2 separate regions of the Homo sapiens genome follow, and region 1 is linked to region 2. Evidence: promoter capture Hi-C in 16 types of primary human blood cells and fetal thymus (Javierre and others, 2016). All regions are on one chromosome and are shown on one strand. The core of a region is centred on a gene start or on the middle of the fragment in contact, and the rest is flanking DNA. Distances in the headings are between cores, read along the strand shown. Region 1 overlaps MRPL47 (mitochondrial ribosomal protein L47). Region 2 holds the start of GNB4 (G protein subunit beta 4).

Evidence for each region. Contacts are between HindIII fragments. The CHiCAGO score rates a contact against its expected background, and 5 or more counts as called.
Region 1: a fragment that was not itself captured here is called in contact with the fragment with the promoter of GNB4 in region 2 in 1 of 17 cell types (monocytes); the score reaches 5.7 in monocytes.

Annotation. Positions count from the first base shown.
Region 1 is chr3:179,591,912-179,598,258 of GRCh38, forward strand. MRPL47 (mitochondrial ribosomal protein L47) reads right to left here. Exons shown (of 7, transcript NM_020409.3): 5 at 1,854-1,984; 6 at 733-828. Among named protein-coding and RNA genes, the nearest start is that of MRPL47, 9.6 kb to the right of the region's middle. The HindIII fragment of the contact is 2,497 bases long and covers 2,188-4,684 here.
Region 2 is chr3:179,449,044-179,455,589 of GRCh38, forward strand. GNB4 (G protein subunit beta 4) reads right to left here and starts at 2,427. Exons shown (of 10, transcript NM_021629.4): 1 at 2,303-2,427. It also overlaps the pseudogene RPL29P34. RefSeq lists silencers at 1,998-2,407, 2,448-2,597. The HindIII fragment of the contact is 16,902 bases long and covers 1-4,444 here.

The sequences.
Region 1 (6,347 bases), core at 2,186-4,685, 140 kb after region 2:
AACCTCCACCTCCCAGGTTCCATCAATTCTCGTACCTCAGCCTCCTAAGTAGTTGAGATTACAGGCACATGCTACCATGGCCGGCTAATTTTTGTATTTTTAGTAGAGATGGGGTTTTGTCACTTTGGCCGGGCTGTTCTCAAACTCCTGACCTCAAGTAATCTGCCTGCCTTGGCCTCCCAAAGTGCTGGGATTACAGGCATGAGCCAACACGCTTGGCTGACTGTGGCTATTTCTGAAGGTGAGCTTATATATGACTTCAATTTTCTTTTTTACCTATTTTGTTTGTTTGTTTGTTTTTGAGACGGAGTCTCACTCTGTCACCCAGGCTAGAGTGCAGTGGCGCGATCTCTGCTCACTGCAAGCTCTGCCTCCCGGGTTCACGCCATTCTCCTGCCTCAGCCTCCCAAGTAGCTGGGACTACAGGTGCCCACCACCATGTCCGTCTAATTTTTTGTATATTTAGTAGAGACGGGGTTTCACCATGTTAGCCGGGATGGTCTCGATCGCCTGACCTCGTGATCCACCCACCTCGGCCTCCCAAAGTGCTGGGATTACAGGTGTGAGCCACCGCACCCAGCCTGACTTTCCTATTTTTTATAATACTTATGTAATAACAGAAATTAAAATTTAAAGACAGCTTAAGCTTTCTTTATGTCATCTGGTATGATATATGACCATATGTCATCTGGTATAAAGATAATATGTTTTATTAAAGGTGCTTGTGCTCACCTGAGAAAATGGTCCACATAAGGCAAGGCAAAGAATCGTTTCCTATTGTATCTTTTATTTAGGTGCCAAGGTATAACCCACTGCTTGAACTTGTGCCTGCCAATAAAGCAAAAAGTTATTTGCCTTAAAGAAAACATTTAATACATTTTCACTTTCCTAATTTACCTCAAAAGGGTTAGTCCAAATAAAAATTAGTAGAAAATAAAACATAAACATTTTTAGTGAGATGCTTTGGCAATTTCTCTTTTCTGTGTTGGACTTAAACCCCATTAAAAGAACCTACCGAATGAGTTATGAGTTAAGTGGTATAATGTCAAGAGTACAGGGAAGGTCTCTAACCAAAATGCCTTCCCCATTCTGCCTACGTTTAAAAGTCTAATGATATTTCATCTTGGTTGTTCAGCCCAAAGGTAAATAAACCTCTTTCTGAGGGGAGGTTTATTTACCTTTGGGTTGAACAGCCTCCCCACCGAAGGAGGTTTATTTACACCAGGTCTTCTCAGTTATTTACACCTCAGCATGAAGGCTGATTACCAGATCCTTTCCCAAAGGCTGACAAGACTCTGGGATTTGAATGTAGGAGAAACAAGGAGGTATAAAAAATAAACTACTTCATAATTTGCCCTAGGGCTTATCCTGATGGCAGTGGGAGCAAACTGAAACTGGTTCATGTGACATTCCCTGAGACTTTAAAAAAAATAGTTCCAGGTTCTCAATGTGCAAAGAGGGCAGGTGTGTGTCCTGAAGTTAGCTTCATGGATTTTATACCTTCTGAAGTGATATGTGTACATGTACATTTTTCTGAGGAAACGATCCCTAACTTTCATCAAATTCTCAAAAGGCCTTGTGATTCATATAAGACTAAGAACCACTACAATAAAGACTTATAGGTAACTGAATCATAGGAATGGGATGTCTGGGCTGGTTTTACCAGATAAAGCTACCTTCATTCATATCCTCCTTCATTAAAGTCCAAAGGGGTGTGGGGCCTCTTCTTTTATTAGACATATCTCTAATATTATCTCATATGGTACAAATTTTTTTTTAAAAGATATTGGGCAGGGGAATGAGGCATGGATTTCCACTCTCATCTTAGAAGAGCCACAGTGTTAACTACATACCAGATGATTCTTCCAAAGATGTCTCTTCTCCAAGCACCAGGTCTAGCTCTTTCTTGACCAGTCTGAAGAAGCCTTAGGGCATCTTCTCTTTCCTGGACAACTTTATCTAATGCATCCATGGAATCTACTACCTGAAAAGAGAATAGAAAGATACAATTTCAACAATCATCTACTACAAAATTCCCAAAAAAGAGAATGTATAAACACTTCTGCTACAGAAAACTTATGAATATTTATGCCAAAGAACCACTCTGTTAAGTATTTCCTAAAAATCTTTTTGGCACAAGTATGTCTACATGGGTGTCTAGATTACCACTTTCTGTATTTTTTAAAAAGCTTACAGTTTTAACTACAAATATATTTCCATTAGTTTTGTTTGGAGTGAGATACACTTACATAGATTCCTTTTGGAGACCCAATTTGATTCATGTTATTTCAAAACTCAATGAGCTAATAAGAAGTGATAATAATTTGCTATTTTCATTATATTAAAAAAGACATGTTCTGGTCTCAACTAATCACTGTGTCCTTGACATGCAGACACAGATATTGTGGCCTGCTTGGTAGCTGTTGCTACTACAGGGAAAGGAATAGCAGTCCATCCAGATATGAATCTCCAAAGATTTATCAAGATGCAAGATGATACTATTAAACTTCTATTTATTTTTACCTCTTTAAGATTTCTATTGTTTTATAATGTATATATTGGCAGGGTTTTATACATATATATATTTTTTAGACAGAGTCTTGCTCTGTCACTCAGGCTAGAGCGCAGTGGCGTGATCTTGGCTCATTGCAACCTCCACCTTCCAGGTTCAAGCAATTCTCCTGCCTCAGCCTCCTGAGCAGCTGGGATTACAGGCACCTGCCACCACACCCGGCTAATTTTTTGTATTTTTATTAGAGATGGGGTTTCACCATGTTGGCCAGGCTGGTCTCAAACTCCTGGCCCCAGGTGATCTGCCCACCTTGGCCTCCCAAAGTGCTGGGATTACAGGCATGAGCAACCGCACCCGGCCTTCTATTTGTTTACATATAAATATTCATATGTTGGGGATTGTAATGTGAGATGGGCCAAACTTTTTCATAGTCCTAAATACATACTGAGAGCCATTTTATGTGTATGTCCCTTAAGCATCACAACAGATATCAAATACTGCATAAGCACATTTGTTTCTCATAAGAATCCTCAAAAAAAGCACAGATTATAATCCCCCAGGTAGCTATGAGATCTGAAAAAGATATGAAAGCCACAAATTTAGATAAATTACTTCATAATCAGTTTTGTTTTTGTTTTTTGAGACAGGGTCTAGCTCTGTCAGCCAGGCTGGAGTGCAGTGGCACGATCTTGGCTCACTGCAACCTCTGCCTCCCAGGCTCAAGCAATCCTCCCACCTCAGCCTCCCAAGTAGCTGGGACTACAGGCATGCACCACCACACCCGACTAATTTTTGTATTTTTTTGGTAGAGACAGGGTTTTGCCATGTAGCCCAGGCTGGTCTCAAACTCCTTGGGCTCAAGTGATCTATTTGCCTTGGCCTCCCAAAGTGCTGGGATTACAGACGTGAGCCATTGCACCTGGCCCATAACCTGCTCAGTTCACACTCAGCACTTCTGCTATCCTCAACTTCACTAAATGCCTTACAGTAGCTGAATTCACATGCCTTCCTCTTAACTATTTTATTTTCTACAAAATCCCTGAAAAAGAAATGATGACTAAGACAAATTCTATTTTGAAGACAAGCAAACTTAGGAGAGTAAAGGGACCACATTGATAAGGGCTTTATATAAAACTCTCTAATCTTTAGAAATTTTTAGTAAAGCTGGTTGTTCACTAACTGCATTAAAGAGTTTGCCTAAGCAAGGGTAAGACTTGAGGCTTCCAGCTGAAATCCAGTGTTAGCTCACAAAGATAGAAAGTAAATGGCTACCAAGTCCACAGAATTAACATTCAGAAGTTCATGCCAAGAAATGTGAAGGAAAATCAAAAGTATTATTTAGATATACCTTATTGAAAACAAGTCAACCTCAAAGAGCCTTCTTTTCTATAAGTTTCTCAGTGCCAGGAGCGTCAGTTGAGAGAATATAAAATAGGACTGTGTTCCAGGGTAAGAGTATACACTTCTCTTTACAGCCAAGAATTAACATTACAGAGTAGCCCTTGAAACACATGTTTTTAAAAGAGACAAAAAGATACACTTGCAAAATTATAATCAATCTTTCAACATTTGCCTTGTTTCTGTATTTCAAACACAAGGGGACTAACATGTCATTTATTTGTGTGATAAATAGATACTAATACTCTGAAGAGAAGCACATATAGTGAGGGTCATTTATCTCAAATGGATAGTTAATACTTTAGTTACAATCATAGCTAACTATTGTGCCAGAATTATATAATTTCTCCCTTAATTTTTATATTATTCTCTAAGTAAAATTTGTCTGTAATATGCTTCAACTGGATATCAACTCACATCAGTGATAAGAATTATATCCCAATTATAATTCTTTTCTCTTTTACTCTTCCTTAAACAGTTCCAAATCTTCGGTTTCTATCTTATATTGAGAATTTTTTTTACATTTTTGCTTAATAAAGTTTCCTTAGTAGTATGTCACAAAACACTGGAAACACCAGATGTATATGAAGTTTGAAAAAATTATGGTCACTTTCAGCTTCTCTGGAGTAAACTTTTATTATTTTGGGTTCTACTGATTGAGAAAGTGCAGTACATATAACCTACTGGGCTGAAGTTCACCTCTGAAATACATATTTAAAGCAGATAATCCACGGTTGAAGTTCAAAAGTTCTGTAACAGCACCATTATAGCAAAAGCTTTTTCATCAAATAACGTGTTCTTTATAAAGCATCCTTACTTGTCAATGCACTTTTTATTTTTTATTTATTGAGACAGGGTCTTGCTCGGTCACCCAGCCTAGAGTTTGGTGGTGCAATCGTGGCTCACTGCAGCCTCAACCTCCCAGGCCCTATACTTTTAAAAAAGTTCAATGTCAGGAAACACAAAGACTGAGTCTCCAGATTAAAGGAGACTGAAGAGACACATGAAAATTCATGATGCAGAATTTTCTTTTGCCATAAAGGACACTTGGGATAACTGACAAACTCTGAATAAGATCTGTAGATTACAGCTAACAGAACTGTATCAATGTTAATTTCCTGATTTTGAAATTTACATAGTGGTTATATAAGGGAATATCCTGGTTTTTCTGAAGTTTTTATAGATAAAGGGATGTCATGTGTACAACTTACTCTCAAACATTTGAGAAAAAATACTGTGTATGGAGGACTGATAGATGCATAGAAGGATAAGGTAAATGCAGTAAAACAGAGCAATCTGGAGGGTATATGAGAATTCCTTCTACTATTCTTGTAATTTTTCTGTGAGTCTAATATTATGTCAAAATAAAGATAAAAGAAAAAAATGTTATATAACTCAACTTTCACTACATCAGAATAACCTTCTCCATAATTAGGGTAAATCAATGAGGTTTCATTTTATACCTTCTTTGATTTTCTCCAGGGATCGTTATGTCCTTCCATCTTAAAGGCAGTGTGGTAAAAATGGCTGCGACTGGTGTGAGGAAAGGAAACTAAAGTAGCTAAGGTTAGGTAGCAGGACTAATGCTATTATAAAAACTGAGTTCTGTTCTCACTACTTACTATGCCACAGAAAAAAATCAATAAAGGGTTGATCTTGAAAGCATCGAGTAAAAACATACATCTAAATAAAAACCTAAGTCTTCGGCCAGGCACGATGACTCACACCTGTAATCCCAGCACTTTGGGAGGCTGAGGCGGGCAGATCACGAGGTCAGGAGTTCAAGACCAGCCTGGCCAACATGGTAAAACCCCGTCTCTATTAAAAATACAAAAAATTAGCCAGTAGTGGTGGTGTGTGCCTGTGGTCTCAGCTACTTGGGAGGCTGAGGCAGGAGAATCGTTTGAACCCGGGAGGTGGAGGTTGCAGCAAGCCGAGACTGTGCTATTGCACTCCAGCCTGGACAACAAGAGCAAAACTCCGTCTCAAAAAAATAAAATAAAAAAGTAACCAACTTCTCACAATATTGTAAATATACTAAACACTACTGACTATTACACTTAAAAATGGTCAAGACAGTAAATTTTATGTTATGTGATTTTTACCACAGTTATTTTAAAAAGCAGTAAAAAACTGATCTAGTTACTAAGGAAATGGTTAAACCAGAACTACAAATGTAAAGTGGTATAGCTACTTTAGAATACAGTTTGGCGGTTTCTTAAAATGCTAAATATAGATTTATCATATAAGCCAGCAATTTCACTCCTAGGTATCTACTCAAAAACATTTGTCCACATGTATGTTAGAAGTTGCAGGTAGGTTTGGGAAGCCAAGGTGAGTAGGTCACTTGAGGTTAAGAGTTTGAGACCAGCATGGCCAACATGGTGAAACCACATTTATACCAAAGATACAAAAATTAACTTGGCATGGTGGTATG
Region 2 (6,546 bases), core at 1,177-3,676:
GAAGGTGCAGGAGAGAGTATGATAAATTGCAGAGGGAAATATCCATCAAAATATCCTCTAGTTTAATTTGAGGGATATCAAAGGGTTCTCATATCCCAAAATTGACCGCAATCCTGTTTGTAACCTTCCAAATTAGTTATAACTCTATCTCTAGAGAACCCACATTAAAATGGAGTTACTGTTTTATCAAGATAATTAAGCCATCACTACCTATTAATATCAATAGGATACACTGTGCCCTGGCAAAAGGGAGGTTTTGAACTTGGAACAAGACATTTAACTAGGAGTAGAGTGGTGAGAAGAGAATGGCTGATGTGAGAAGCTGTATAAAAACATGGGACAGACAATAATGATCATGCTGGAAAAACAAACATGCTTCTGGCATGTCTTGGATATTTTACACACATGCTAATGAGTAATTGAGGGTCACTCCTCATGCCCTCGAACTAAGTTAATATGGCTCAGGGGAAAGAACATGGACTTTGGAAACAGAGGGGTCTTGCTTCGAATCCCAGTTGAGTTACCTAACACCTACATGACCACTGCCAAGTTACTTAAAACCTCACAGACAATTTCCTTACCTGTGGAAGTAGATAATGGTGTTACTGTGAGATATAAGTAGAATAACTTACAGCACTGCCCCAGCCCAGAAGAGATATTTTAATAAATAAGTCCATAACAGACGCAGATTAAAATAGTCAGCAAGGTAAAGAAACTGATGATACAGCCAGCTGACTTCAATAACATGCCTAAGAGAAATCACACCATCTCAGGCAGTATTTGGTAAGGCCAGAAGAATGTCCAACACTTAGTTCCAATTCTTAATTTTCAAATTGCCCCAGAGTCTATTTTTAAAGTGTAAAAGTATGTGCTGACATACTTACATGCCAATTGTTTAAAAGAAACAATTCTACAGGTTAACAAAGGCCAAAGACTCGGAATAACTTCCTAAATAATGTTTATGGGCCCACAAAGAGTTGAACCAACCTAAAATATCACAAGCTGTATCAATCAGTTTTATAAATGTATATACAGAGGGTTGACAACGTTCAATAAGATGATATTTTAAAAGTTTCTATTTCAGTTTCAAATTCATCTACAAACCAAAATGCAACATGGAAAATCTTAAAATGTCTTTAAGCCACATACTGAAATATACAGTAAATTTTCAGAGCCTAGGATCAGTAGTAAACCAAAAGCCCCAAACTGAAGAGTATTAAAATGAACAATGGCAGAGACTCGAAGCACACAATTTTGAATGCACCTAATCAGCCGTCCTCCTCTCCGACTAGAAATAACTTCCCTCCCATCTTAAATTAAGTAGCGTGTGTTCTGTCTCTGTCCTAGAAGATGTACTTAATGGTCATAAACTCTGTTTGCAACACTGAGACGGACTCATAATAAAAGTTCTAATCAACAATTAAATTTTGAACGTTTTAAGAAAACTTCCCGCTAAGCCACACGCCAAGCTACTTTGTCGGTGGCTGAGAGGGAGAAAGATGCATCCTTATCCTTTATGGAAAGAGAAAGGGAAGGAGTGGGAGAAAAGGGAACACAAGGAGACGAAAAATAACAAAGTATTGCTTGTATAAACAAATGAAAGCCTGGTTTCAAACTTTTGAAAATTCAACGTTCCCTTAGCGAATAGCAATACATATCAAAGTATATGGCAATCATCTGTGTTCTGAAGCAGAAAAAGGTGGAGAGAAAAGCAAAACACTTTTTATTGTACTGAACTCACAAGTATTCAAAATTCATCAATCCCCTCCCATCCCCAAACTCTGGACATTATATCATTTCCAAAATAAATCTGAAACAAAACCATTGGACTAATTTTGGACTCAGCGTAGAACTTTTATGAGTCTTCCAAGCACTCTCCACCCAACAGCCCTGCTGGGCAGTCCCGAATACCCGTTATTTTGGGGGCACGCACGGGCTCGTGCTCTGAGTTCCTGGAAGGAGGCCTCGGGGAGTGACGAGAAACCAGGGGGGTCTGCAGGACTTGGACCGCCGACCGTTCCTCGCTCCCCGGGGCGAGCGGTCTGGACCGCCCGGGAAGTGCCTGCGCCGGCGGTCGTGGGGCCAGTTCCCGCGTGGCAGCTGGGCGCGACACAGGCGCGCCCTCCTCGTCCCTCCCGGGCAGCGTCGGCCGCCCGAGCCCGGGGAGACCCGCCCCGCCCCGCGCCGTCACCCGGGCCCCGTTCCGCAGGGGTGGCTCGCGGCGCCCCACGTCCCTGCGAGAAGCCCGGGATCGCTTCGCGGGGCGCACCGACGAGCCGCCGCTCGCGAGCTCGCCGCCTACCTGGAGGGAGCTCAGGCCCGCGTCGACCGCGCGCTGCCGGTGTCCGCTGGGCGCTCAGCAGCCCCTGGAGCGCGGAGCCGGCGTGGAGAGCGCAGCTCACAGCCGAGACCAGAGCCGCCGGCCACACCCAGTCCCGCACCTCCCAGCAGCCAACTCCGCGGCGCGCCGGAGCCGGGGCGGGGACGTGGCTGGAGGCGCGAGGCGCGAGGCACGAGGCGCGCGGGCCCGGCGGGGACGTGCCGGGGACGCGCAGACCCTCGGAGCGCGCGCAGCCCGGGCGGGGGGCGAAGGGAGCGGGCGCCGCGCGCAGCTTCTGCTTCCTATTTTCTCTCTCGTTTCCTGCCAGAAGGAGAAGAAAAACATTCATTCCCGGGCAGTTTCGTTTTCTTGTTGGTGTGGCGCCGGGGCACGCTGCTAAGTAGCGCCCGTCTAAGTGGCGTGGCCAGTTTCCTTTCCGGCGCTGACAGGCGCCAGTTTGCTTGTTAGCAGGATCGAAGGGCAGAGCTAGAAGACCCCAAAGGCCCCATTTAGGTTTCCCATTCTGGAATTCTAAATGTCAGAAAGTAAACTGAAGCCCAGAGTTGCACAACCTTGCGTTGCAGTCCCCGCTCTTCCATCACTAGTTGTAGGACCGTGTACCGTCTCGGGCCTAAGTTTCGTCATCGCCAAAATAAAGATACTGATACCTGCCTCATAAAGGTGCTAAGCATATTAAATGAAGTGATGTTTGCACGAAGCCTGCCTCCAAATAAATGGCCAATACTTGGAAGTTATTGTTCCTATTGTCATTGATAAAACTGGAAGGCCTTCCAGATATCCCTGCCAAGTCGCTCTTCTCTGCATGAGTTAAACACCACATGCATCTCAATCGAGTTTTTTTTTTTTTCACATTTATCTGGGTGTTTTATGTTTAAAATGTCATAAAATAAATGCATCTATCCAATTTGCTTCCTCTGAAGTCAGTACCGCCTGGGAGCATTTTTCCTCTCCCCACCCCCATTTTTCTTCTGAGTTAATTCCAGTTTGACAGACTGTTGCTATAGCATTCCTTCTCTGACGTCAAACAATTTAAAGAAACAGCCCTGGGTAGCGAAAACTGCAGAGGAGTTCTTTGTGGAGTTTCTGTGCCGGAGAAATGTTCGAACAATATCATCAGATAACTTTAACAACCCCTCAGCCTTCCAATCCTCCTTCTGTAGCTGCTTCCCACTATCACCTGGAATAAATCTATTAGTCCCTTGAAAGAGGTGATGCCATGATAAACACACCCTGTTTGTGACTGTGGGGAAAATGTGACCGTTTTGTATAAAAGCCAGGCCGTGACAAAAATAGAAGCAGCTGTTTCTATTTTCTTTATCCACAGATAAAGAAACTGTGGATAATTTTTCCCCCAAAATTTTCATTTTTACTAATATTAGGAGCATTTTTCCATTAAGAAGAAAGAAATGCCAAATATTCTGCATATCAAAGTGTCAGAAGAGCTCGTTGGGACATGAGTGTTTTGCATCTGTAACTATTTATGTTTTAATGATTAAATCCTGAGTTTTATGATTGTCGTTTTTCGGAGGAAGCAAAGGGAAATTGTTAAAGAGTGCCTATTACGGACCATGCTCTCTGCTTTCTTATACTGTACTTAATCCTCATAATTACCTTGAAGTGTGAATTTTATCCCCATTTTACAGATAAGCAAACTGATGCCCTGGTAAGATTAATTTATCGGAGTCACGAAGGTATTGGTAGAGCCCTGCATGACATCAGATTGGATCAACTCCAAAGCCCACATTCTTTCTTTTTTTTGTTTGTTTTTTTGTTTTGAGACGGAGTCACTGTGCAGTGATGTGATGTCAGCTCACTGCAACCTCCACCTCCAGGATTCAAGCGATTCTCGTGTCTCAGCCTCCCAAGTCTGGGATTACAGGCACAAGCCACCACGCCCGGCTGATTTTTTGTATTTTTAGTAGACACGGGGTTTCACCGTGTTGACCAGGCTGGTCTCAATCTGCTGACCTCAGGTGATCCGCCCACCTCGGCCTCCCAAAGTGCTGGAATTACAGGCGTGAGCCACCGATCCCGGCCCCATATTCTTTCTTTAGATTCTTTTCTGCCTTGTTCCTGTGCACTAGCATTTACCAGATGTTATAAAGCTTTGAGAGCTGGTTGTTGGGTTAAGATTATTTGTTGAAAAACAAGTTGCTGGTATTTAGGAAAACACAGTGGGAAGCAATGAGATAGTCTATTCCAGAAAAGATGAGGGGAAATATAAATGAACAGCTCCTAAACATAAAATACAAAACCTGAAAAGATGTAACAAGAATTTGACTGTCTTTTAAAGAGTTTAAAAGAATGATATCGTCAATCTTCCTGAAAATTTAATGTAGACAAAGAAATTACTAGAAGAATAAAGTCCAAGTACAGAAAAAGGAAAGTTTAATTATTATCCAAACGAATCTACTTCCAAGAATATTGTATTTCTGTTTTGCCATACCTGCTCCATATTGTTCTGGAAAAAAAAAAAAAAACTTACTTGTTAAAGGACAAGCCTATACTGAAAATCTGAAAGTGGAGCTGATTAAAAGAATTTTGTCATCAGGAATGATTTCATAAGAGCACACTAATGCATCTAAGTGATCCAGCAATTCATGATTTTTCCAATGATAATGAAATCCACGAAGAACAAAAGAGAGAGACTGGGAAGGGAGGCAGAGAGAAAGGTGAAGGGGTATGCTATTAACATTTCTGATGCCTGCTGGTTTGTGTAGACAATTGTAGAGATGTATCCTACTTCTGAGGATTAAGCCCCATGATCTTTTGTTTGGGTGCCACTGGCTGATAATTAGATTTCTAACTCATTAGGCCCATGTTCTCAAATCCTACTCTATTAAGAGAGCATAGTGGGGTCCCTACTAGAGAACCTTTGAAGACAAAATCCTTGTCCGTTTCATCTTTGTGTCTGCCATAGTGTTTAACAGAGCACCTTGCATTTGCTAGGTACTCCACGAACAAATAAATGAGTGAATGCACTTGGCTGCTTGTTTTATGCAAATAACCTGCATACCTCACCCCATCCCACACGCTAGTCAGAATCATAGGAGAGGAGAAAGTGGTCATTGCTTTTCTAGGAGTTTAGTTACAGTTTCTTTTGCAGGGTGTTTTGCTTCACTATGATCAAGTTCAGAGAAGCTCTGCTCTTGGTCCTACATTGGATGAATCTGAATGCTGTACTCAGTGAGCTACCCTGTAATCCATAGTGCCATAGGTTTGTATATCCTGCTTTTAAGTTTTACCCTAGAAATGGTCTATATTTTTTTCTGAGCCTACCTTGCTCTCAGACGATGCCAAGCACACCGTGAAGAACACAGCTATTAAAGTGTACAATATTTCAGTACCGCCCTGTATGTGTTGTATGCATTCCAATTCTATTGTGTTTGAAATGAGGCCAAATTATATACATACAACATCACAACTACCGTAACAGATTTTATTTCACCCACAACAAAATAAGTTATAAAATATTAAATGGAAATTATCTAACAGGATCTACAGCACAGTTTCCCAAGGACATGAGAAGCAATTCCCTAGTAGATTCTGTAAGAAGTCAGTCTATGTGTGGTTTCAGACAGACATCCTTGATACAGAGTAGTCATGCCTAAAGCCTTCCCTCTTGCTCACACACAATGCATTTTCCATATCAAAGTACAGTTTGTACTTTGAGTCACCTTTGCTGTACTCCTCTGACACTGGTGGTACAAATCAGTTATAGCTTTTGTTTATTTCCACTCAGGTTCTCGTTAACCATGGGAATTTGGAATCTGTCATCCAAGTGCATCCCAGTGACCTTAAGAGAGGGTCAATGATATCTGTCACAGGCATGGGAGAGGGAACTAGAAGCATGCAGGCATATATCTGCTGCTCTATGTCCTGTCATTCAGGTCCCTGGAATCAGGGAATTCAGGGAAATCAGGGAATTCAGGTCCCCGGAAAGGGACATGTCAAAGTGAAAAAACACTAAACTGCACATCAGAAGACTTGATTTAGAGCTTTGGCTCTGGTATTAAATGTCTGTGTGATCTTAAGCAGATCTTACCCTGCCAGCATTCTGTCTTAATTATATAAAATGAAGGTGCTGAATTCTAATACGATTGACAAATAGACAACACTGGTGCCATCTCTCAGACTATGTCCGGGGATGACTTCACTAATCAATCGTGGACTCTTGCCCTGTAAGCTTCATTTCATCCCAAGAA